Regions from separate parts of the Homo sapiens genome. Here region 2 is linked to region 1. The links are contacts of gene promoters, found by promoter capture Hi-C in human tissues and cell types (Jung and others, 2019). All regions are on one chromosome and are shown on one strand. The core of a region is centred on a gene start or on the middle of the fragment in contact, and the rest is flanking DNA. Distances in the headings are between cores, read along the strand shown. Region 1 holds the start of NGEF (neuronal guanine nucleotide exchange factor). Region 2 overlaps GIGYF2 (GRB10 interacting GYF protein 2).

Region 1 (3,774 bases), core at 910-3,409:
GGATAGATGGATGGGTGGATGGGTGGATGGATGGGTGGATGACTGGATGGGTGGATGGGTGGATGGATGAATGGGTGGGTGGATGGGTGGATGAGTAGATGGATGGGTAGATGGATGTGTGGATAAGTGGGTGGATGTGTGGATGAGTGGGTGGATGAATGGATGAGTAGGTGGGTGGGTGGATTGGTGGGTGGATGGGTGGGTGGATGGATGGATAGATGGTGGGTGGATGGATGGATGGGTGAAGGGATGGATGGTGGATGGATGGATGGTGGATGGATGGGTGGATAGATGGATGGGTGGATGGGTGGATAGATGGATGGGTGGATGGGTGGATAGATGGATGGGTGGATGGATGAATGGGTGGGTGGATGGGTAGTTGAGTAGATGGATGGGTAGATGAATGGGTGGATGAGTGGGTGGATGAATGGATGAGTAGATGGTTGGGTAGATGAATGGGTGGATGAGTGGGTGGATGAATGGATGAGTAGATGGTTGGGTGGATGGATGGATGGATGGATGGATGGATGGATGGATGGATGGATGGTTGGATGGATAGATGGTGGGTGGATGGATGGATGGAAGGGTGGGTGGATGGATGGGTGGGTGGATGGAAGTGTGGATGGGTGGATGGATGGGTGGATGGGTGGATAATGGATGGATGGATGGGTGGATGGATGGGTGGATGGGTGGATGATGGATGGATGGGTGGATGGATGGTGGATGGATGGATGGACGGATGGATGGGTGGATGGGTGGATGGATGGGTGGATGGGTGGATGGATGGGTGAGAGAATAGATGAGAGACTACTTCAATCTGGCTTTCAGGGACAAAACTGAAACCCATGTTTTGTGGCAATCAGATGGCTGTGGGAACTTTCAAAGATGGCCCTCAGGGACCCCCACCCCTGGTATTGTGCCCTGTGTAATCCCCTACCTTTGAGTGTAGGCTGTGCCTGATGACTTCCTTCTAACGAGTAGAATATGCCAGAAGTGATGGAATATCACATCCTTGAGTATATTACAAAAGACTGACCTACCTCTTCCCAGACTCTCTCCATAGCCCTCTCTGATGCAACGAGCTGCCAGGGCGGAGAGGCCCACATGGCAAAGGACTGATAGTGGCCACAGCTGACAGCTGAGAGGGGCTGAGGCCTTCATCCTACAGCCCTAAGAAACTGAATCCTGCCAACACCAGCAGCTTGGAAGTGGATCCCCCCTAGTGGAGCCATGAGATGAGACCTCAGCCCCTCCAACACTTGGATGGCAACTTATGAGAAACCCTGAGCAGAGAACCCAGCCAAGCAGTGCCCAGACTTCTAGCCACAGAAACTGAGATGACAAATGAGTGTTATTTCAAGCCACACACTTTGAGTTAATTTGTTTCCAGAACAGATAGCTAAAACAAACGCTGATTTGAGTTTTATATAAAGATGGATGATGTAGCAATTAAACTTGGCAAATGATGGTAGTGGTTTTGATACTAGTTGGCTTGGGTTTGAATCCTGGATCCCCAACTTACTAGCTGTGGGGCTTTGAGCAAGATGATCAATTTCTTGAGCCTCTGTTTCTGCATCTTTAAAATGGGCATGATTCTCTGGTCATAGTGACAACACAAGGATTACATAGATTATGTAATGTACTTAGCCCAGTGCCTGTCATGTAGTAAGCACTGGATTAAAGGAAGCTATTAGAGGGAATAATAATAATAATAATAATAATAATAATAATAATAATAATGGAGCAAGATGCCTTACAAAGCAGTGAGTGTTCCATGCCTGGAAGTGATTGAGTTAAGGCCAGATGGCCATGGCAGGAAGTGACTAGAACCCTGGAGGACCCCAAAGCCTCTCCCAAATCTCAGATTTGAGGGCCGTGCAGCTGGCTTGGCCAATGCTTGGGGTTGGTGGGCCAGCTGAGCCACGGGCCCCTCTTGGTGTGACCATCAGCATTATCTTGCACTGGGCGGGCGGCGGGTATTCCAGCCATGCCCAGCCTTCCCCTCAGATAGCCCTTCCCTCCTGCACCACTTTTGTGTCAGGTATGTGGCTGCCACCCTGGCTCAACCCATGGGGCCCAGGAAGGTAAACACCCAGCCGGGAAGTGATCGTTATGGGCTCGTGGCCAGCTATGGGCCAAGGCAGGTCTAAAGGTCGGGAATGCTTACCAGTGAAGCTTTTCCAGGACAGGACGAAGTTTTTGGCTGTGGGCTCTCTGGGACAGAGTGGAGCGCCTGTGGATTTAGCCGGGGACACACCATCCTGCTCGCAGGTGCCTGGACAGGACAGGGGACGAGGGAGGAACACTCTCTGAGGAAGCCCAACTCCTATGAGCTCCTCTCTGGCAGGTGAGAGAATGGTTTTGGTATTTTTTAAAAAAATAAAATGAGATAAAACAAGAGAAGGAACAGAGGCTACCGCTAGGACAGGTAGGAAAGGAGATTACCACCCATCCATTCACTGAGGAGGAGCCCCCAAGAGAAACAGCAGCCCTGGATTCCACCCGAGGGATCCTGTCTGGTCTCGGCTTCAGCACTGCCCCTCCTGGCACTCAGTTTCACCATCTGGGAATCAGGATAAGGACTCCTTCCAGGCGCTCTTCCATTATGGCTGTGGGGTAAGTGAGATCAAAAGCAGGAATGGCTGCATAATTGCAGGGCCCTGTGCAATATAAAAATGCAGGGCCCCTTGTTAAAATAGTAAGGCTTTCAAAAGGACAACAACACAGCATTAAAGCAAGCCGGGGCACCTTCTAAGAACAGGGCCCTGTGACTGCCCAGGCCCCACACCCACGACGCCAGTCCTGATAATGAGCGTATATGTAAACGGAAGTGCCCTGATTCCTGTGTGCCATGGCACAAATCTCAGGGTCAGGAAGTGCACTTGGGAAACAGAAGTCATAGTCGTGAAGTGACAGCCCACTGCGCTTTAGCTCCCCCAGCACTGCCCCCTCCGCTCAGGGGCCCCTTTCAGAAAGACAGAAGGCCCTACCCCTCAGAACCTTCCTGATTTTTGCATCTGGCTGGCCTCAAGCCACAGCACGGTGTGACTGAAATGTGTAGGGACACAGTTTTCTTGGATGTGAAAGTGGTAGGTTCTTATTGTCTATCTTGATTTAAAATTTGGGACAGTCACACAGTCTCTGGCTGTGTAGAGGTGGGACTTGTGTTTCCTGGGCTCGTGACAGCTCTGCTATGTTCCATTGACTATCAGTGTATTTCTGCTTTTTGGGAAAATCCTTAATGCAATAAGGCCACTGGTGGGAATGTTCCAGCTTGGACACTTGCCATGTGTCTTTGTCCTCCCTGCCCCTTCTCTCTTTCTCTCTCTCTCTCTCTCTTTTTCCATTTAGGCTTCCCCTTTGCCCATGTCTCAGGCTGCCCCTTGGCACTGCTTAGCTCTGAGGAAGTAGAAGCCAGGGTCCCCTTGGGGGTCAAGCTTTCTGGTCCATGAAGGGAGACCACAGACCACCTCCCTCCACCGCACTCTCCTCCCACATCCCTTTCTGGAGCCCAAATTGTCATGGGAACCCCTCCCAGGGAGGGGATCCCCACAGGAAAGCCAGGGGTTGATCCAATGACAGTGTGAGTAACATTCCACAGCTTTCTGCCCCAGTGGGGCTGGGGACACAGATGAGGCTAGACATGGGGGAAGATGAATTGCTTTAAGAAGAGCTGATGCATGCCTGTAGTCTCAGCCACTCAGGAGGCAGAGGCAGGAGGGCTGCTTGAGCCCAGAAGTCATGCGGTGGGCTATGATCATATCACTGCATTCC
Region 2 (3,774 bases), core at 795-3,294, 220 kb after region 1:
CGAAAATCAAACTCAAACCTCCGACGTCGTTCCATGTGTTCCCGCCAGCCTGCAGAACGAGGGCCATCTGAGATGAGAAGGAGGACACAAACCTTAGAAAAGTTTTATGACAGTATTTGAATAAGAAAATCAGGAATAGAAAATAAAGGAGAAAACTACAAGTGACCGCAAACTCAAATGGACTGACCTAGTAAAGAGAACATTAGGCAACTAAATGAAGTTCAGAGTTCAGAGTATATGTACCATTACGAGATGACAACAGTACTTAAGTACTGAGCCAGGCAACATACTCTAAAGCTTTAAAAGATAAATCTAAAATGCAGTACATTTAAAGGACACTGTATTCCAAGTACGCACTTTCAGTAAGTCCTAGGTACTTGATTAAAATACTGATTAGCCGCCAACTCCTCATCCAGACTTAATGCACTAGACATCCTTCCATACTGAAGTTTACACCTTCCTTTTGCCCAATCTTAAAGCATTTTCTTTCTTCCCATGAAAATATCATTGTTTGTGGATAAAATCAGCTCCCTGTGTTGACTTATATCAAACTCATCATGACTATTTATTAATGCCAGGTTCCCACTTGTAATTCTGATCCTCCCCCAAAAATTCACAAAATTACAGTGCTGAAAGTTGTCACAGAGATTTTATGAAGTTCACTATCCTAATTTTATAGTTTAAGAAGAAACTAAAACTTTGCCAGCAGAAGTAACTCGCACATGGCAAAGTAGAACTAAAATCCAATTCTGCACCCTCTGCTGCTTGTTCCACAATAACATACTTACTCCTCTCCCTTCTTTCTCATCTCTTAATTCTCCCTATCCATATAATACCCCTACGGACATTCCCAAATCTACATTTCCCAACAGAAGAAAAGATTGCCTAATAATAAGAGATCCTACTTAAGATATTTTTCTAAAAAAAAGAAAGGGAAACTCTTGCTAAAATCTGACAGACCTGAGTCTAAAAGAGTCTTAAAAAGAAAAGCAGGCTTTAACCTATTAGAATTTTCCATCCTTGACTGCTTTCTCTGTGGGGGATAAGAAAAAGAAATGTGGCCAGAGTTAAATGTTCTCACTATTGAGACAAACTTTGCAAAAACCAGCAATCTAAAAATCAAATTGGAAAACAAAGGGCAAAACGTTAAAATGCCAAATACAGGTAGCATCTGATAAGCCACTCACAAAAAAGAAATCTTAGTCCCACACTCCCATCCCTTCATATAAAAACAACAAAACACTATTTACTACTTCCTATGAGAACTAAGGAATTTTATACTCAGACTGCTTACGTGGAAACCTAGAGCCATTATGTGAAAAGAGTCTTCATGATCAAATGAATTCCAGAGCCCTCTGTACTGCTTTCATTTCTAACAGTCTAAATGTACATCATGACAGGAATCTATCCTTCTAGGTACCTGGCTCATGTTTCTCCTCTTACTGACTTTCCTAGGTTCAGCTCCCAGACTGGATGCCTCCCTGTCCTTAATGTTCCCACCCCCACGCACATCCAGCCGGAAGCCCTATTTTATATCCCATAATGTTATCTTATCAGTAGTTCATAAAATTTTACTCACGAAACTAAACATAGCAAGTAAGACATGCAAGGTACTTATTAAGGCTGACTGCTGATTTACAGACCCTACATCTAAACTAAAGTTGGATACTATTTTCATAAAATCAGTTAAAATAATTTAAAGTTTTACTCAAATCTTAATAAAAGATTAACCATAAACTAACAAACGTTAAGAGTTAACATATGAAAACTGCTATAATCAGGCTATACTTTGAATATACTGGGTTTAAAAAGTGAATCGTATTCTTTTTTAAAATGCATTTACACTGTTTTTTCAGACCCAAACTTTATATTTGGGGGATCTTTATATCCCCCAAACTGTCTTTTAAAAATATATGGATTTCAGCCACAGGTGTGACTGAAAAAATATATATGTATATGGATTAAAAGTTCTGGAAGATACACAAGTTGATGACAAAAATGATATGAAAGTCAAATATTAGGGGGAAAGAAAGATTCAGAAAAGATGAGAAGAAGATAATATATAACCAAATTCTAAGTTGTTGGGTGGGAGGTACTTTGTTAAACTCCCTTTAATAGAATCAACATCAGACATTTGGGCTCAAAAAACACAGTTCATCTTCCAAAACATTCACCTTGTTTGTTTTTGACCAGCTGGAATTTCTTTTCTCTCTCAGCCCAGATCCTATCCATTCTTCACTGAATGCTTGTTGGGAACATAGTCTACAAACCCTCTGCCTACGGACAAGCTCAGCATAAAATGCAGTGATGCCTTTTAGAGAACTATAACATCTGGCCCAGGTCACAGACTAATGAAAATTGTCTAGACCTTGTGATGTAAACAATGCCCACTAATGACAGAAAACCCACCCAAGAGGCAGCCATGAAGAGTTGGTATAAAACCATCCTAACTCTACCCAAACATTAACTTCAGTATGTTTCTATCTACCTACCACTTCCTTAAAATACTCTGAATGCCTGTTATAATGTCTACCCAGATCTAAGCTAGTGGTTTTGCTAATAACTTGATTTTTAAAAGTGAAAACAGTTTACTTATCATAATTTCCTGTATTAAAGGTAAGCCCCTCTGGCACATGGTTGATAAAATACTGTCATACACATGAAATTCATAGGGCATTCCACATATACTCTGTGTGCTTCAGTTTTGCATGACCCCACAATTGGAACTACAGTTGCATCTGATTATCATGAGGCATGGAATCAGCACTGTGGTACAGGATGAACTTTAACACAAAGCACTAGTGTCTTCAATTACTAGCATATCTAATGTCCAAGAAGAACAGTTTGAGCATTTTTAAGAGACAAACAGAAGAACTTTAAAAGCCACTAATCACTACTATTGTCTCTCCTTCTTCTAAAGTTAGAAGGACATAAGAATGAACTTGTGATTATGTTTCTGACCTAGGTTTAAAGCTTATTCTTCAAATAAGGTTAAATCACATTTTCAAAAGGGAAAAAATGAAAGAATAAACCCTTTCTTGTTAGGAAAAACACTCATTGTTGGGGAGGGAAGCACATATTTCAAGTGTGTAATTTTTACACATTTATAAATCTTAAAGAATGCTAAAAAAGATTCAGAGATTTAGAGGTAGACAAAACTGAATGAAACCCTCATTTCTGCAGTTGAGCGCAGGTGCTTCCCATTAAACTACACTATTTGCCCCAGAAAAATAGAAAAGTGATTTCAATCAACTGAATAGATGTAGGAAATTTTTATGTTGCAATTTTTTCTAGTAATAAAACTGTGACAGCATAAATAATATGAATCCACCCCCACATTTTTTAAGCCAGTTTATCTTTTTCATTTAATCCCTATTTCCATCAAACTTTCCCTTATTTCAGTCCCTGTGTGCCTTTACTCAACAGAATTCTTACCAGGACTGTGAGGTCGCCACCTCTCTCCATCCCTCCTTGATCCAGCTAGTCGCCAACCTCCATCTTCATCTTCTCCATTTTGTTCCTCTCTAAAGATGCGCCAATTTTCACTTTCTGAGCGTATAAATTCATGCTTTCTCCCTACTGATGTTGGTCCACCTTCCTCAAAATTTGGTCTCCCTATAAAGAAAATAATATGGTAAGTAAACATGAGCCTCTGCCAGTATAGGCTTTGAAAACAAACTTCACAGCTCAAATCAAGCTTTCCTGCAAATGGGTCCATTTCAATATTCAGAAAAAAATCACTAAAATAACAGTGGGTATATGTATATATTATTA

What was found. Contacts are between HindIII fragments. The study calls those that stand out against the background at their distance.
Region 2: a contact is called between a fragment that was not itself captured here and the fragment with the promoter of NGEF in region 1, in 4 of the 25 tissues and cell types used here (adrenal gland, lymphoblastoid cells, pancreas and 1 more).

Annotation. Positions count from the first base shown.
Region 1 is chr2:233,011,641-233,015,414 of GRCh38, reverse strand. It overlaps NGEF (neuronal guanine nucleotide exchange factor), which reads left to right and starts at 2,159. Exons shown (of 15, transcript NM_019850.3): 1 at 2,159-2,347. LOC101928881 (a long non-coding RNA gene) reads right to left here and starts at 2,801. Exons shown (of 3, transcript NR_136325.1): 1 at 2,446-2,801; 2 at 2,168-2,275. The HindIII fragment of the contact is 2,443 bases long and covers 364-2,806 here.
Region 2 is chr2:232,786,991-232,790,764 of GRCh38, reverse strand. It overlaps GIGYF2 (GRB10 interacting GYF protein 2), which reads right to left. Exons shown (of 29, transcript NM_001103146.3): 9 at 3,436-3,615; 10 at 1-67. Among named protein-coding and RNA genes, the nearest start is that of KCNJ13, 12 kb to the right of the region's middle. The HindIII fragment of the contact is 4,915 bases long and covers 1-3,774 here.